Linked DNA regions of Homo sapiens: region 2 is linked to region 1. The links are contacts of gene promoters, found by promoter capture Hi-C in human tissues and cell types (Jung and others, 2019). All regions are on one chromosome and are shown on one strand. The core of a region is centred on a gene start or on the middle of the fragment in contact, and the rest is flanking DNA. Distances in the headings are between cores, read along the strand shown. Region 1 holds the start of OPN1SW (opsin 1, short wave sensitive). Region 2 has its middle 45 kb from the start of LINC01000.

The links. The method cuts DNA at HindIII sites, captures the fragments that hold promoters and counts their contacts. A contact is called where the count stands out against the background at its distance.
Region 2: a fragment that was not itself captured here is called in contact with the fragment with the promoter of OPN1SW in region 1 in 3 of the 25 tissues and cell types used here (adrenal gland, dorsolateral prefrontal cortex and stomach).

Annotation. Positions count from the first base shown.
Region 1 is chr7:128,774,367-128,778,466 of GRCh38, forward strand. OPN1SW (opsin 1, short wave sensitive) reads right to left here and starts at 1,428. Exons shown (of 5, transcript NM_001385125.1): 1 at 1,073-1,428; 2 at 620-788; 3 at 132-297. The coding sequence starts at 1,415. RefSeq lists cis regulatory regions at 1,414-1,981, 1,422-2,416, 1,425-4,100, 1,425-4,100, 1,425-2,524 and 1 more. The HindIII fragment of the contact is 13,114 bases long and covers 1-4,100 here.
Region 2 is chr7:128,594,068-128,597,918 of GRCh38, forward strand. No RefSeq gene overlaps it. Among named protein-coding and RNA genes, the nearest start is that of LINC01000, 45 kb to the right of the region's middle. The HindIII fragment of the contact is 6,994 bases long and covers 1-3,851 here.

The sequences.
Region 1 (4,100 bases), core at 178-2,677:
CTACTTCCTTTGCTGCTTTTAGATACCCTCTCTGGCTATGGACATTTCCAGGCATCTTATGTTTCAGAGCACTCTTCCTTCTCATGTGGAGCCCCGAACCCCTTCTTCCCTGACTATCAAATGCCACTCACAGCTTTCAGGGCCCTCAGCAGCTGAGTGTAGGAGAAGCAGATGAGGGAGAGAGGCACAATGAAGCAGAAGATGAAGAGGAACCACGTATAGGACTCGCTGCGGTATTTGGTGCCCACGGTGTACCAGTCAGGGCCACAGGAACACTGCAGGCCCTCAGGGATGAACCTGCAAAGGACCAAACACTTGCTCACTGGACTCTCCACAAGAGTGCAGTGGGAGCTGAGATGCCTGGATTGTGTTCTCCACTTAGAACCCACGGAATGCCCTAAGGCTTCAAGCAGGGGGGTTTTCTGTCCTGACTGGGAGAAGCTACAGCAATTCCAACTGCAGAGTAAACGTTAGCACTTGTCTCCCACTGCCCTTTCGCCTCATATTGCAACTCTTTAAAAGTAGAGGTCAAAGACTAAATAGTTATACCCAAGCTCTCTTTCCACCCACATCAACCTGAGCTCCTAGTTAACTCAGCACCACTGCCCTGCACTCTCACCGGCTCCAGCCAAAGAAGGGTGGGATGGAGACGCCAATACCAATGGTCCAGGTAGCCAGGACCACCGTCAGTGCATGCTTGGAGCTGAAGCGGAAGTTGCCGAAGGGCTTACAGATGACAATGTAGCGCTCAAAGGCCAGGAAGGCCAGTGACCATCCTGTAACCAGACCTGTGGTGAAATGTGAGGATAATGGGCTAGACAGAGCCCCACCCAGCCTGGCTGGCAGAGTGGCAAACAGATCGGGTGGAGCAAGCACAGAGAGACAGGGCTGGACTGACATTTGGAGTGAAGACTCAAACATCCTATTTTAGCCAAACTTCTAGTCTGGGTTGCTTTGTACCCCAGTATTTTAAAAAGCACCAGACTCATTTCCCCCAGACTCCTCTTTAGGAACCCCCTCCAGTGGAGTAGCAACCTTTGCCTTCCCCTAACCCCTTTTTCCCCTGCAGTACCTGCTACAGTGCCCAGGAAGCCCTCCAAAGCACAAACATGGCGACCGAAGACGAAGTATCCGTTACAGCTGGCGACGAAGACAGGGAAGACAGAGAAGATGCAGAGGAGGAAGCCTCCGAAGGACACGTTGACCAGAATGTAGTTGAGGGGCTGCCGCAACTTTTTGTAGCGCAGTGTGGCCACCAGCACCATGGCATTGAGTGGGAACCCTATAAGGAAGACAGTGCCCATGAAAGCTGCCTGGAGGTAGAAGGCCCAGACAGGGGCAATGTGGTACTGAGGCCCATCCCACGGCCCCACTGAAGAGATATTTTTGAACAGATAAAACTCTTCCTCCGACATTTTTCTCATGGATGCCCCACACCCCCCTCTGAGTCCTCTTATAGGTGATCCTCCCACCCCACAAAACCCCTCCTCTAAAAACACTTGGGCTCTGTGAATGATCAATACTAATCCTAAACCTCCCAAGGACAAAGTTTGGGATTAGAAATCCCTAAACCACTACCTAAACCTTTTGTGGCCCCAAAGCCGATTGTGTTCTTCAGAGGATAAGAGATTGGGCTCAAATAATCTGGATATGCAATGCTGGGTGCTGGGATGAACAGAAGTGGACTCCCTGAGGTCTGGGAGGTGCTGACCCATATTCACTGAAGATGCTTCCACTTTTTTGTTCTTTTAATGGGGCTATAGAAAGGGCACGCCTCTTATTTTGGCTTCTGGCACAACTGTATCAGTTAAGTTTTCCTCAACTCATCTGCCCCTTTGTGGAAGGTGCCCATCTTAAGTCTGCTGAGAGGCTAGGAACCAGCCCTGGGCTGCAGGAAAGGGCTGGGAGTGGGGAGTGCCCTGGAAGCACATCAGTAAACAGCCTTGATGGAACAGGACTTAGGCAACTTGACAATGCCTAGAGGTCTAGGGCATCCCTGAGCCAGGCTGCCTCCATTTCTTTGTGTTGAATCTACTCAAAGAGTGTGCCTTTCCTACTCAGACCTCCAGCCAGGGAGGTGGGTCTGTTCACTGTCCTTACGCCATGTTCATGCCTACCCCTACCCTTAGCTCAACAAGTCGCCACAGTCTTCCTCCTGTCTGTTCATTGAAGTCTTATCTAGCCCTCACAGCCTACCTCACAAACACCTCTTCTGTGCAGCCCACCCCAGTGACACCAACTCTGCTTTAAGTTCCACCTGCACTTGTACTCAGTACTACACTTTAGGCTTTATGAATGAATCTTTTCCACCTCAGCAGATCATAAATATATAGATGAGTTGGCCGGGCGTGGTGGCTCAAGCCTGTAATCCCAGCACTTTGGGAGGCTGAGATGGGTGGATCACAAGGTCAGGAGATCGAGACCATCCTGGCTAACGGTGAAACCCCGTCTCTACTAAAAATACAAAAAATTAGCTGGGTGTGGTGGTGGGCGCCTGTAGTCCCAGCTACTTGGGAGGCTGAGGCAGGAGAATGGCGTGAACCCGGGAGGCGGAGCCTGCAGTGAGCCGAGATCACGCCACTGCACTCCAGCCTGTGGGACAGAGCGAGACTATATATATAGATGAGTTAAAAGTGACACACTTTAGGTATAAGTAAGTTTAAAAGTGAAAGGATGGTCCAGTAATGGCAGAATAGTTTATTAGATGAATGCCCCCTTAGGCAAAAAAATTGTAAACTGGACACAATATGAAAAACAACTTTTTGAAAACACCTAAAGTATCCAAAGCAGGCAGAAACTGAAAGGAACTCAACTCTTCAATGAAAAGAACCATCTACATTGTTGTTTTTTTTTTTCCCTGAGTGTACTCCCGAGTATAAATGGCACAGGATAGCTAGAACTTGAGCAGAAAGCCCCAGCCTTTTTTGGCTTGAAGAGTCAGAGGACAGAGGACAGGAGACAGAGGACAGTTTGGGACTCCAGAACAGCTGAAGGTGGATTTCCTGGAATGAAAGAAGCCACAGAAGGCAAAGTCTTTAAATCTGCATATAAACTCCCCTCAAATCATAGGCTGACTGCTGAACTGTGGATGGAGGAATTTCCAAGAGCCCAGTAAAAGACAACCACTGGAGGTCTGAAAGAGCTAAGCAGATTTTGACTGTTACCCACTGTAGCAGAGAAAGAGTTTGAATTTGAATCCCAAGTCAGAGGGTCTGGGTAAACACTTAGGGCTTTCTACTTGAAACTCCCAAAAGGCCACACCATAGAGCTAAAATCTATATCCCAGGACTAAATATTTGTTCTGAGAGTAAGGTCAAAGCCAAAGCTGACTCATACTAGCAAAAGATAAAACCAAGCCTCAGCGGGTTCAAGGTGATCAACTAGTAAGTTAATTGCTTATTAGAACAAAAATCAACACCCCTCAATGGAAGATAACCCAGTTTCTAAAGTTCACTATCTACAATGTCTAATATACAATGAAAAATTAAAAGGCGTGTGAAAGAAAAAAAAAACCCACAGGAAAATATGAGTCATAGCCAAAAGAAAAAGCAAGCAATAGAAACAGAACCTGAGATGACCCAAGAAGTTGGCACCAGCAGGAAAAACTTCAAACAGCGATATAAATATATTCAAGAACTGGAAGGAAAAAAATGATCATCGTGAGTTAATGGATCTCAGCAGAAGAATGGGAAAAATAAAATAGCCAAATGGAAATTCCAGAACTGAAAACTACAACATGTCAAATGAAGAATTTACTAGATGGCTGAACAGCAGATTGGACAGCAGAAGAAAGGATCAGTGAACTTACAGATAGATCAATAACAAAAAGATATCTGGAAAATCCCCCAAACACTTATGAATAAGCAATATACATCTAAATATCCTGTGAGTCAAAAGAGAAATCATAAGGAAAAACTGAAAGAATTTCAGCTGAATAACAACAAAAAAGTATTAGAAATTGAAGGAGTCAGCTAAAGCAGTACTTAGAGAAAAATTTATAGCTTTAAGTATTTATACTAGACAATAAATGTTTAAAATTTAAACTTTCACCTTGAGAAGCTGAAAGGGTGAATCAAATCTAAAATAAATAGGGGCAGATA
Region 2 (3,851 bases), core at 882-3,381, 180 kb before region 1:
TTATTTGTCTTTTGGTCATTTTTAAGGCATTAAAATGACCTCTTTTTCACTTGAGAGGAGTTCCCTTTGTTTACTCCACAAATACGTACTGAGTGCCCACCGTGTAATGAGCGCATAGTTAAATACACAAGATTTGGTCAGCAAGAACTTGTTCCCCTTTCCATCTTCTGTAAAAAGTATGGTTATGTAAGCTTGTGGTGGATGCACATGAAGGACCACCTACTCAGTCCTATCAGCTGACGCACTCCATTATCAGAGGAGTAGCAGATGCTGTAGCCACGTTGTTCTCATGTGGAAAGAGGTGGCAGAGACGAGTAACAAAATGATCATGTATGAAGAAGGAACATGGAAACAGTATGAAAACCAAAAGTCTGAATGCTCTGGTACAGTTTTGTTTCTCTTTGCTTCTCAGCAGTACCAGCCAGCATATAAGCTTAGTAGTATAAGGAAAGAAAATAGGAAAAGGGTTAGTATTAATATACAAGTGTAAATCAGCAAAGGAAAGCAGATTCCTAGAAAAGTAGGCAAAGACTGTTTTTGAAAAGAAGGCAAGCGGCTAATAACATGAAATACCACTCAATTTTGGCCATAGAGAAGTGCAAAATAAAACAAGATAACATTTTTGACCTAGCAAATTGGCAAGGATTAATAAGTTTGATAGTTCTTGGTGTAGGTGATAGTTTAGAGATACATTCAGTTTTATTCTGTCTATAAATTGTTGAAGTCATGTGGACAACTTGGTAATGTATCTCAATGTTAAGTTTACATATCCTTGGGTCCAGAAATTCCATTCCCATAAAATTACACAAAGATATTTATTGAGGTATTGTTTATCGTTGCAAAAAATCTGGAAGCAGTTTCCCTTCCAGTATTTCAGAGGATATGACCTTCGCATCAGAACTCATCTGACGTAATTCATTAGCGACTGTTGATCACTTCTTTCTTCTCTAAGCATACGGTCTTCACTCGGCTTCCACTCTTGATTTTTCCTCACATCCTCTATCTCTGAACATTAGAGTGTTCCAGGGCTCTGTCTTCAGATTCATTTATCTACCTTCATTTTCTTCTTAACCTCCCTCTCTCTCTCTTTTTTTTTTTTTTTTTTTCAATTGAGACAGGGTCTCACTCTGTTGCCCAGGCTGGAGTGCAGTGGTGCAATCTCAGCTCACTCCAACCTCCATCTCCTGGGCTCAAGCGATTTCCCCACCTCAGCCTCCCAAGTAGCTGGGAGTACAGGCGTCTGCTACCACGCCTGGCTGATTTTTTAGTAGAGACAGAGTATTGCCATGTTGGCCAGGCTGGTCTCAAACTCCTGACCTCAAGTGGTCCTCCCGCCTCGGCCTCCCCCAAAGTTCTGGGATTACAGACGGGAGCCACCACACCCAGCCTTCTTAATCTCATCTAGTTCCTTTGTTACTAAAACTTAACTCCTATGTGCAGAGGATTTCCAAGTTTATGCGTCCAGCCCAGAGCTCTGCCCTGAATTTCAGGCCTGTGTCAGTTGCCTCCAGTCATTTCCTTTTTATGTCTAACAAACATATCAAATGTAACATGTTCAAAACTGAACTCTTCCTTCTGTTCCCCACCCGAAACCCATTTCTCCTACGGCCGCCTTTCTCCTCCTCCTCCTCCTCCTCCTCCTTCTCCTCCTCTTCCTCTTCTTCTTCTTTCACCTTTCTTCTTTCTTTCTTTTTTTTTTTTTTAAATAGAGACAGAGTATTAGTGTATTACCTAGGCTGTTCTTGAACACCTGAACTCAAGTAATCCTCCCACTTTGACCTACCAAAGTGCTGGGATTTTAGATGTGGGCCACCGTGCCTGACCTCCACAGCCTTCTACATCTCAATAACTGTCAACTTTTCTCCTTCTAATTTTTACAGCTAAAATCCTTGGAGTCATTCTTGTCTTTCTCTTCTTTTTATATTATATGCTAAATCCAAATCTATCAGTAAAGCTTATTGATTTTACCTTCAAAATATGTTCAGAATTTTTTTTTTTTTTTTTTTTTTTGAGATAGAGTCTTGCTTTGTTACCCAGGCTGGAGTGCAGTGGTGCAATCTGGGCTCACTGCAACTTCCACCTCCCAGGTTCAAGCCGGTTCTCCTGCCTCAGCCTCCCAAGTAACTGGGATTACAGGCACGTACCACCATACCCAGCTGATTTTTGTATTTTTAGTAGAGATAGGGTTTCACCATGTTGGCCAGGCTGGTCTTGAACTCCTAACCTCAGGTGATCCACCCGCCTTGGCCTCCCAAAGTGCTGGGATTACAGGCATGAGCCACTGCATCTGGCCTATGTTCAGAATTTTACCACTTCTAATTCTCTTCACTGCTGCCACTCCAACTTAAACCATTGTCTCCCACTGAGATAACTGGACCCATTGCTTTGACCTTTGTTTTCTTTTAATCTGTTCTTAACAAAGCAGAGTGATTGTGTTGAAGCATAAGTCCAGTCATGCCACTCCCCTGTCGAAAAGTCCTTAAAGTGGCCCTGCATGGTTTGTTTTCCTCCACCCTGACATGTTTTACTACTATCTCCCTTTCTCATCAGATTCCATGCACGCTAGCCACCTTGTTTTCTCAAATACTCTCTCTCAGTGATGCTCTCACCTCGGGGCCTTTGCGTTGGCTGTTGCCTTTGCCCTAACATTCTTCACCCATATATCATCATGCCCCGCTCTCTCAGTTCCCTCTGGTTTCTGCTTATATTTACTCTATGAGAGAGGCCTACCTTGGCTACACTATAAAATAGCAACTTCTCCCCACCCACCCCACCTGTTATTGAGCTCCTAGGCCCTGCGTTGTTTTTCTCCTTAGTCTACACCAGCTGACGTACTATGATGGACTTTTGTCTGACTTCCCCCCACTGGAATGTAAGCTCCATCAGGTCAAGGACTTTACTTTGTTCACTTGTGTATCTGCAATGCCCAGAACGGGACCTGCTCTAATAGACACTCAGTGTAATTATATGTTGCATGAGTTAGTAAAAGCATTCTTTATAGAGGGACTGGTTAAATGAATTCTAATACATTTGTACAGTGGAATGCTATACAGCTGACAAAAGAAGTGAGGTAGCTGTATATACACCAATGAAAGGTTTCTAAATATGTGTTGATAAAAATAGGTGGCAGAATATTAAGAATTTGATCTTTTAAATGTTTAAAATTATTACATAATTGTGTGTTTTAACATAGGAAATTTGAGGTTTTATTTTTAAGAGAGAGGTCTCGCTATGTTGCCCAGGCTGGGGTACGGTGGCTATTCACAGGTGCAATCATAGCATTATAGCATACTATAGCCTTGGAACTTCTGGGTTCAAGCAATTCTCTTGCCTCAGTTTCCAGAGTAGCTGCAACTAGAGATTGCACCACAGTAGCTGCAACTAGAGATTGCACCACTGCACTCCAGCCTGGGTGACAAAGTGAGACTCAGTCTCAAAGAAAAAAAAAATTAGTATTTGGCCTCACAGTCTAGTGCTCATTCTATACCACCACACTAGCTCCCAGTATGAAGACTATCTGTTTGTACAAAGACAATATATATCAGGCTAGAGAATAAGATATCTGAGCTGACCTCTCACTTTTAACTTTATGACATTACAACATACATAAAGATCCAGGAAGAAGGGAGATGTAGAGGGATTAGAAAAAGGTCATTTCCTCTTCTATTGGTGAGAATGTTGTCAGGGAAAATCATAAGCAAATAGTTTCCTAAATTATGAAAATAGAACATGTACGTGACCCGCAAGAAATTGAGGAGATGGAGAAGAGTAAAATTCTTCCCTTGGATTTCTCAGAGAGATAACTACTGTTAACAGTTTGTGTTTTGGATTTTCTAAGGATTACCATTTTA